2 separate regions of the Homo sapiens genome follow, and region 2 is linked to region 1. Evidence: promoter capture Hi-C in human tissues and cell types (Jung and others, 2019). All regions are on one chromosome and are shown on one strand. The core of a region is centred on a gene start or on the middle of the fragment in contact, and the rest is flanking DNA. Distances in the headings are between cores, read along the strand shown.

Region 1 (5,113 bases), core at 443-2,942:
TTGCTTGAACCCAGGGGGCAGAGGTTGCAGTAAGCCAAGATTGCACCACTGCACTCCAGCCTGGGGGACAGAGCGAGACCCTGTCTCAAAAAAAAATAAAGGGGGATATATTATTTTCTGATAAAACTATGCTATTTATTTATTTATTTACTATTATTCAGAGTTTCCTCAGCTGAGGTTATTATAAATTGGGGAACCAAGTAACCCAGAAGTCGGAAACAACAACATACCGGAGTTGAGCATTGCCCTAAGTTTTAGAGGCCATCCCAAGAACCATACATAGAGTTTGGATAGGAAAGTATTTCCTTAGAAGAAGGAGGAAGTGTAAAAGGAAAAACAAGGAAGTGAAAGTCTGAGCTGAAAATGTGGGCAGGCAAAGCTTTGGGGAAAATAGAAAGGTTAAGCTGGCAACTGTACAAGGGCCCCGTCTACTGGAAGCAGATGCTCCTGGGCTGCCCTGGGCGACAGTCTTGTGAAGTCAGCATGCCCTCAGAGAAAAGGTCCTATGTGCTCGGAGGTTCAGGGACAGTGCAGGGTTGAGAGTCCATTAATCCAGTTTAGACATTCAATAAGCTTCTAGCTACTTTATTATCAACACCCCAAACTTCCTATACCCCTGTTAGTTTCTGAAAAAGAAGTCTGGGCTAGGTGGATATATATCTTGTGATTTAGGTGAATTTGTGAACGATGATTTTTCCAGGAAGAAAGGAAACTGGGACGAAGCTTCATGATGGATCCTGATGCAACTCTTCCCCAGAAACCCTTAAACCTCCTCCCATTTTTTCTGCCCTTAAGGGACAAGGCTTGGCTGTGATCATTGGCTCAAATAATGTGGACAGAGACAAGGATATTGAAACGGACTGTCCCACCGTTGAGAAAATAGTCAAGAAGGCAATATCTGAGAATAATTGGAGTGCTTTAGGAGGAAGGTCATTGCTGAGAAGAAACAGAGCTTCCAAGAAAATGAAAGGAAAAGCTCTACCAAATGGAAACTAAATCTACTTATTAAGTCTTATTTCCATATAAGGAGGGTGAAAGAAACTGATATGATTGTGAAACCATGTAAGTGTTGCTTTGGCTTTTAGACTATACATATTTATCCTTATGTTCAGGAAATGTGTTTCTTCTGGTTCCCATGTTCCCTCCAAAGCCCAGGTGGACTTCATCACCTTGAACTGCTGGCCTATGGCATAGACAGAAACTAGGAAAACCGCTTTTCCACCAGAGCGGCTGGGCGTGGGCTCGGGTGAGGTGTGATGGAAAGAGCTCTAGAGTAGGAGGGGTCGGTACCTTGACCCTCGGCTTGCCCTGGGTAGCGGACGATTAAGTGGGCCAGGGCAAGTCACCGAGCTTTCCTGGTACTGTTTCCGCATCTGTAAAGTGGGCGTGTAGTCCACCTCAGAAATGGCATTTTTCCAAGACCTCCCTAGGCCGCTTGTTGGAAGGCTCGGCACCTCGGCGGCTCTCGTGCGGCAGGCATCGCTCCCACACTTACTAGGCAATATGTCGGGTGGAAGACGTGGCGGCTCCCGCTCAGCAGCCACCCTCCCATCCTCCCGGGCCCGCCTGACCCGAGAGGGCGGGCGAGGTAAGCATCCCGCTGGTGGATAAGGCAGCGATTCCGGCGGGCGAAGGCTGCGCGCCGGGGGCGAAGGATTCCAGCTGTTCTAGGTCTCTGTGACCCGCGCCTCTGGTTCCGAGCGCGGTCTGTTGACGACGGCGTCTCCGCGGTTGCCTGGACACGGCCAATCACAGCGCGGCTCCTGGAGCCGGCCCCGCCCACAGACCGCGCCCTCACTGGGGCGATGGCTGCGGACCGTGGCCAAGAGGGCGGGGCGCCGAGGCCGTCACCGAGCCAGGTGCGGAAAGCCGGCGTCCGGAACCACCCGGGCCGGGACGACCTCCACCCCAGACCCCCAAACAGAGGCCACGCTAGAGGGACAGGGCGAGTGGCGTTGCCCCTTGCGCCTACTGTCAATGGGAAAATTAACAACAGCGGAGAATATGAATGAAAGAATGAATGAATTAACAAACAAATACACTGATGAGCTGGGGTAGAAATATAGGGTGCGAGCAGACAGGGGAGGAAGGCGCCAGAGGCCGAGGAGAGGCGAGGAGACTGCGGGAAACGCTACAAACGAACTTCTTTTCATACTTTTCAGCAGAGCATTGACCCCTGTGTAGTTTTAATTTTCACCTCACCACTGTCAGGCGATGCTCTCTTCCTTGCACAGTTCAGAGAAAGACGCTTTAAAAGAGGTGGGGCAGTTCGTTGTAGCTCAGCCACTGGACGTGGGCGGAGCTGAGACAGACAGAAGGGACAGGGAGCTGCAATTTTGCAATTGTGGAGGCAGGGGCTGCAGTTGCCAAGAATATTCTTACCTGTTTGACATGAATATTTCTATAGGCATTATTTTCTCCATTCAGCTTTGTTTTTAACCTTTGTTTCAGTGTTACCTTATCAATTAAGCAAAAGGCTCTAAATATTTTCCTATTTTTCCAGTCACCAGGAAATAAAATTGTGCTTATGAAAAGTATCTTTAAAGTCTTAATAAAAGACCCCACAGTAAGTATTGTTTTTAGGGTATTGGGATAGTAAACGATTTTAGATTTTAAAATTATAGAACTGACCAGATCATTTGCAGGTTTTTCAAAGAACTAATAAAACATAGTTAATGTTAGAACTGAGTAATTCTGTCCCCCCAAAAAAAGTCTGCTTCATCCACAGGAATTTATTTCTCCTGCATTCTTTTAATGCCTCTATCATTTAAAAAGTACTGAAAGATTTCATTCCATATCACAAATCATTCCTGGCAGTTATTAGTTTATATATATTTGGCCCTGCAAATGAAACCTGCCATCCACACCACCAAAAAACAAGCAAAAGCTTGATAGTACTGAAGACTGTTCAGAAGGGAGTAAAACACCAGCCTCGCCCATGTTTGCCAATGACCCATTAATCCTTGCTGTCCACACCCTGCCACACTAATATTCTTGGGTCACGGGGGTGAGACAGAGCACACAGCAACACATAGCCAAATGCCCTGCCTCACATGGTCACGCCAGGCACTCTTGTTCCCACCTTCACCCCATGCCTGCTCCTTTCCCTAGGACACTTGCCACATACGTGCAAGTCACCAAGATGATCTGTCCCTATCTTTCGTGTTTATGTGTCTATAAGCATACATTCTGTTGAAAATGTGAAACATTACTTACTTAAATTGTAGAATGATAAGTGAGTAGAAGTTTAAGGTTATTTTGAAGCATTAAATAGTTGGTATGGACTTCAGTTTAGCTAGTTACAGAATGGTTTGCCTCATTTTTATTGAGTTATTTGAAATAAGAAAACCTTTAGCACAGTGGTGATACACTACTATACTGAACTTTTGACAAATTTGTTTTGAGTTTACATTTTTACAGATAATTTGTATCTTTCCTTAAACCTCAGTAAGCGACATTGATCAAATCACTGCCATCTTTGATGTCAAACTTCTGGACTTTACCATTAAGGGCTCAAATTATACTTTCAGACTTTTGCTCATTGCCTCCAACACAAACCCCCATCCCAGAGAGACCCACCTGGTCCCTGCCTCTGAGCACAGATGACTTTACTCAGGCCACCCAGATTACCACAGTTTGGGAATCACCGTCCCTTCAGGGTCAGCTCTAGCTCTTCTCTCTCTCCCCAAAGCCCTCCCATGGATGCTGCGGCCCTAATAACTTCTCTCTACCTGTACAGTCTCAAAGCATTGCTTGCCAGTACCACACTCTTGGCAACCATGTACAAGCCTTTGACAAGCCTTTCGTTGTTATTTGACCTTTGTGCTGTTTACTTTTCAGGTTCAATGGGTTTTCCTTTTCTTTATACAAGTCTATCACTGCCACTGCTTGGGCTTATGGCCATGATCAGAATGTTTGGTGGAGGAGGGAGGGTGATAAAGGAAATGAAGGGAGGAAAAGCATTTTCCTAAGCCCACTGCAAAAACTGGAACCAGAGGAGACGGAGAATGTTAACTCCTTGTATATATGTGTGAGAAAGAACCTGAGCTGGAATTAAAACAGAGGCACTCCCTCTGAAGAGGAAGGAGAAACTGAGAGAGTGAGGCAGTTCCTGCTGAACCTTTGTTAGCTCTTGTGGTGAAGGGAGTTTTCGCCATCAGGGGCAGCCTTGGGAGAGGTAGGTGGGGACAGGGGCCATCACGGGGAGGTAGAGCTCAAACAGAGGTTTCTCTATGCTGTGATGTTCTTGAGTTCAGCATTCATTATTTGGGACAATGAATGTAGACTCCTGGCTCTCAATCTAACATCTTTGATGAGGGTCAGAGCTTTTTTACTACCCTTGGCAAAGACTACGTTCACTTTTACCAGACTGAATTAACACTTAATCATAGCTAGAATGTATTGAATGTCAGACCATGTTCTAACCTCTTTAAATATATTACATCATTTAATACTTAGAAAAGCTCTTTGAGGGAGACATCATAATTATGTCCATTTTCTAGATAAGTAAACTGAGACAGAATATTAAGCTATTTCTCCAAGGCCACTCAATGGTGGTTCCGGAATTTGAACCCAGGCAGCCTGACTCCACACCCTGCCCTGTTAATTATATGCTGTGTTGATCAACTGTTGGCTTCAATTTTCTCCAAGAGGAAATTTCTGTCATCTCAGTCATACAGTGTTCATTTAGTGCTTGATACTAATGGCACAGAGAAACCTCCCTGGATTTAAATGTGTTTTTAACAAGACATATTCCCATTTTAAATGGCATAAAGCAGGTCTGTTTTTAAATTACCCTCCCCGGCCAGGCACCGTGGCTCACGCCTGTAACCCTAACACTTTGGGAGGCCAAGGTGGGCAGATCACCTGAGGTCAGGAGTTCAAGAACAGCCTGGCCAACATGGTGAAATCCTGTCTCTACAAAAATACAAAAATTAGCTGGGCATGATGGCGGGTGCCTGTAATCCCAGCCACTTGGAAGGCTGAGGCGGGAGAATCACTTGAACCTGGGAGGCAGAGGTTGCAGTGAGCCGAGATTGTGCCATTGCACTCCAGCCTGGGCAACAGAGTGACACTCCGTCTCAAAAAAAAAAAAAAAAAAATTACCCTTCCC
Region 2 (4,553 bases), core at 1,392-3,891, 94 kb before region 1:
CTTATTAGAAATGCATGTTTGTCTCCTCCTCCCAGTTGTTCATCATCTTTGAACTGCTACATAATAAGGCCTTTTTAGCCATTCATTTCTGTGTTAACGAGTTTCCTGGGTCTGTTCCTATAAACTAGTTTTTATTGTTAAATATTTAGGGGGTCTTGCCCAGTGGGAGTCTGGGGGAACCCTAAATAATCTACCTATTTCACAGCCTTAGTTTCTTCCTACTTTATACACATCACAATTTTAGGTGTGAATCCAGTTTCAGTATGTAGTCCCAAAGACTAAAAATAAAACTGTCCCTTTCTCATCAGTATTTGTAAAAAAAAAAAAAAAAAAAAAGGGAGCTGTACTATATATTAATAATTCTCAATCTTTACCATAATACAGTTGACTAGCACAAAAAAATTGAGGTAAAATTCCCTCTTGTAAGCCAAATTATTCAAAGTGATCCTGTAAAATTTCATTTAAAATTGACAAGAATGAGTTAGGAGATGATCAGTATTAGAGCTAGCTTGAATATACTACATTGTTGTCAGTTTGCAGTAAGCTATGTTCAAATTGATGGGGATTAATATTTTGAAATATCCAGAATCTAATGTATTTTTTATTTTATTTTATTTTGAGACAAAGTCTCCCTCTGCCGCCCAGGCTGGAGTGCAATGGCGCAATCTTGGCTCACTGCAAGCTCCACCTCTCGGGTTCTGCCTCAGCCTCCCAAGTAGCTGGGATTACAGGCACGTGCCACCATGCCTGGCTAATTTTTGTATTTTTAGTAGAGATGGGGTTTCACCATGTTGGCCAGGCTGGTCACGAACTCCTGACCTCAAGTGATCTGCCCGCCTTGGCCTCCCAAAGTGCTGGGATTACAGACGTAAGCCACCATGCCTGGCCTATTTTTAAAATGAAAATTTAGTTATGTGTGATTTCCTGAACATTACAGAATAATGTCTACAAAACCAGAAAACTGTGCTGGGGGAGGAAACCCACAAATGAGATTTTCCCTGCGCTGTAGCAATTACCCTGCATCCTAGGGTAAGCCAGGAAACAAGTCGTGCATCAATTCTGCATTTTTCTAATTCAGTTTTTATATTTTCTTCCTTGCAGTTTGTCATAAATGCACAGCAGTGAGGGGGCAAGAACATAACATGGTGTGGCTCACATAGCCCCGACGGACAGTGCCCTTTCCATGGAGGGCATGTAGGGCTCAGTGGCCGGCCAGCCTAATAACAAGTGGCAACAGGACTGGAGTTCCCCCTCTGCTGGAGTTACAACATCTCAGTAATGACCCTGACTTTGAATCGGAGCCTTCAAGAATACATGAGGTGACACTGCATTTGAGGGGGGGGCCTTGATTTTCTTTCCCAGGTGTCTCCTCTGGGCTGCGGTCACCCGCCTGTCACCTGCCTGTCTGCCCTGGGCTTGCATTTTAGGTTCACTTCACAGCATGTACCTGGAACTTTGCCACCTCCTGAAAGAGCCTGCCTTTGGTTTTGCAAATCTGCCATGTTCATTTTATCCTGATTTCTATTTCACATTGGGACACTTCTTAGTCTTTCCATGCTTCTAAACCTTTGACACCTTGTCTTCTGGTTCCTGTTCTACACCTCTCTGCTTCTCAAGGTGTGGCCCCTGGACCAGCAGTGTTAGCATCATCTGGGGGTTGTTATGGATGCAAATTCTTGAGCCACATTTCGGACCTACTGACTCATATGCATGATGCTGGAGTTAAGGCAGCACTGCTGTCGAGCACTGTCCTTCATTGGGAGCCAGAGTCAGGCACTAGGAGAAGCTGTATTCCTACAAAACCCACAATAGAACTGCAGCTTTCAAAGTTTTTAATGGTTATAGCCCTTTGGAGGATCTGACTCCTTATTTGCTGGGATTGCGCTGTATGCTGGCTGCTAGTCACTGGAATAATGAGGGAAAATACAAGAGGACCACAGAAACGCCTGCTGCGCTGGGCATACTCACCAGCAATTTCTCTTTTCCATTCAATATGGGGGAACAAAGGGCTTCTCTATTTGCATAATGTTGAATAATTCTGAAACTCATAATGCCTGATTTCTCCAAACCCAGCCCCTGGCTTATGTACAACTCACTGATGTCTAGAACTCATTCCCAGCCTTGATCTCCACTCCCACAGATGCCCTTTGGAGAAGGGTGAGGAGGGAAACAGAGGAACCCTGTTCTTCACAGAAACCCAAGCTGGTTTCTCTCCCTGCTGCCCCTTCCCCTGCCTTCTGACCCGATGGAGGCCTCACCCACCCAGGACTTGAGGGGAGGCCCCAGCCCCTCCCAGGAGTGCACTTCACCTACCGCACTGGTCTGCACGGACTCATTCTCCGGTTTGGCTTTTATATCCACAACCCCATCAGCGTGGCGGAAAGAGCAGTCGGCAAGCACATCATACAAGGATAGCTTCTGGGCCTTCAAGCCATATTTCTGCAGCCATGTCTTAGAGTCCCAGGTGTCTTCTGGATTCGATGCAATCTCAACAGAGGTTGTTTCTGACTCTGTAGAATCACAGCTTGTCAGCCATTCATACTGCATGAGCCATTCATATTACACCCCCAACTTAATATTGACCAACTTGGAACGTGTTCTTTATTAGACACAAAGCCCATGTTTCATTTCAGAAAACAGCTTTCCAAAGCAGGACTGGCAAAGAATTATTAGGCTTTTAATGGCAAAAACCACGACTACTTTTGCACCAACCTAATAATTCAAAAGACTGCAAAGCAGGGTTACTTTTTATTTCACTTCCTCCTCTACCAAAGTTGACTGGCCCCATGCCTGGGTGAAGGTGACCAGTAGACCAAGGCTGTGTGTCAGGAGCCATGTATGTGTAAGGATGGAGTCAGAAGCTCTGGCTTCAAGGCCTGGCTCCATCACCTTCTAGCAAGTTGCTCAAACTTGGGTGAGTCACTCCACTTGACCTCTCTGAGCTTAGGCAGGATTCTTCACCTGCAGCTGGAAGACAGTATTTGCTTGGCCTTCCTAGGTAAACTGCAGCAATCCAGTGAGAAAAGTTATGTGAGGCCAGGCATGGTGGCTCACGCCAATAATCCCAACACTTTGGGAGGCCAAGGCAGGTGGATCACCTGAGGTCAGGAGTTTAACACCAGCCTGGCCAACATGGCGAAACCGCATCTCTACCAAAAATACAAAAATTAGCCAGGTGTGGTGGCAGGTGTCTGTAATCCCAACTACTTGGGAGGCTGAGGCAGAACTGCTTCAACCTGGGAGGCGGAGGTTGCGGTGAGCCGAGAATGCACCACTGCGCTCCAGCCTGGGCAAGAGAGCAAGACTCCATCAAAAAAGAGGAAAGAATGAAAGAAAGACAGAAAGAAAGAGAGAGAGAGAAGAAAAGAAAGAAAGAGAGAAAGGGAGGGAGGGAGGGAGGAGAGAGACAGAAGAAAGAAAGAAAAGAAAGAAAGAAAGAGAGAAAGAAAGAAAGAGAGAAAGAGAGAAAAGGAGGGAGGGAGGAAGGAGAGAGAGAAGAAAGAAAAAGAAAGAAAATAGAAAGGGAGGGAAGGAGGAAGGGAGGAAGGAGATAGATGAAGGAAAGAAAGAGAAAGAGAGAAAGGAGGGAGGGAGGAAGGGAGGAAGGAGAGAGAGAGAAGAAAGAGAAAGAAAGAGAGAGAGGGAGGGAGGAAGGAGAGAGAAGAAAGAAAGAAAAAGAGAGAAAGAAAGAAAGAAAAAGAAAGAAAGAAAGAAAGAAAGAAAGAAAGAAAGAAAGAAAAGAAAGAGAAAGAAAGAGAGAAAGGAAGGAGGGAGGAAGGGAGGAAGGAGAGAGAGAGAGAAGAAAAAGAAAGAAGAAAGAAAGAAAAAGAAAGGAAGAGAAAGAAAGAAAGAAAAGAAAGAGAAAAAAGAGAAAGAAAGGAAGAAAGGAAGGAAGGTAGGTCACGTGAAAATGCTCTGTAATGTGGTGGAAAGAGAAGTGATGAGGTGGAGGCGATCAACACGCGAAGGCTAGGAGGCTGCCTCCCCTGAAGCCCCTTTGTTACCTTGGTGAGTGTGTCCTGACTCACAGCCTGGCTTTCCACCCTGCAGGCTCAGAAACCTCATGTGCCCTATCTAGGACAACTCACCTTAGCTTCACAGGGAAAAGAATAACCACAATGCCAATTGCCTAAACATCTCCAGCCTCAGGCACATTCTCGTGGTGTTTTCCAGAGGTAATCTACACTGAGAAGACTGTGTTATGTTACCTGAGCGGGACAAGCCAGCATATCACACAAGCAGAAAACTATTTTTCCAGATGACTCGAAACTTGGAACAGCACCTAAGGGAGAATGAGCTACTCAGGGGTGGACACAAAGGAGGGGTGAGGAACTGTGAAGCTGAGGAGGCACTGGTGTCTGGAGCTGGCTGTGCACATCTCCCAACTCCATGCTGGGCGATGGCCGCTTGGTAGGATGAAAGAGACCATGGTGGGAGTATTTATGGAATCTGGAAATCAGCACATGCTACACATCGGGGCTTTTTTCATTCCCGGGAGTGGGTTGTTAAACATTTGCACACCACTGGAAGGAAGGCAGAAAGGACCCTGAGAT

The links. Contacts are between HindIII fragments. The study calls those that stand out against the background at their distance.
Region 2: a contact is called between a fragment that was not itself captured here and the fragment with the promoter of VWA3B in region 1, in 2 of the 25 tissues and cell types used here (bladder and mesendoderm cells).

Annotation. Positions count from the first base shown.
Region 1 is chr2:98,083,746-98,088,858 of GRCh38, reverse strand. It overlaps VWA3B (von Willebrand factor A domain containing 3B), which reads right to left and starts at 1,692. Exons shown (of 28, transcript NM_144992.5): 1 at 1,496-1,692. RefSeq lists enhancers at 963-1,463, 1,498-1,567, 1,464-1,964. The HindIII fragment of the contact is 7,495 bases long and covers 1-5,113 here.
Region 2 is chr2:98,178,973-98,183,525 of GRCh38, reverse strand. VWA3B (von Willebrand factor A domain containing 3B) reads right to left here. Exons shown (of 28, transcript NM_144992.5): 9 at 2,314-2,510. Among named protein-coding and RNA genes, the nearest start is that of VWA3B, 94 kb to the right of the region's middle. The HindIII fragment of the contact is 8,998 bases long and covers 1-4,553 here.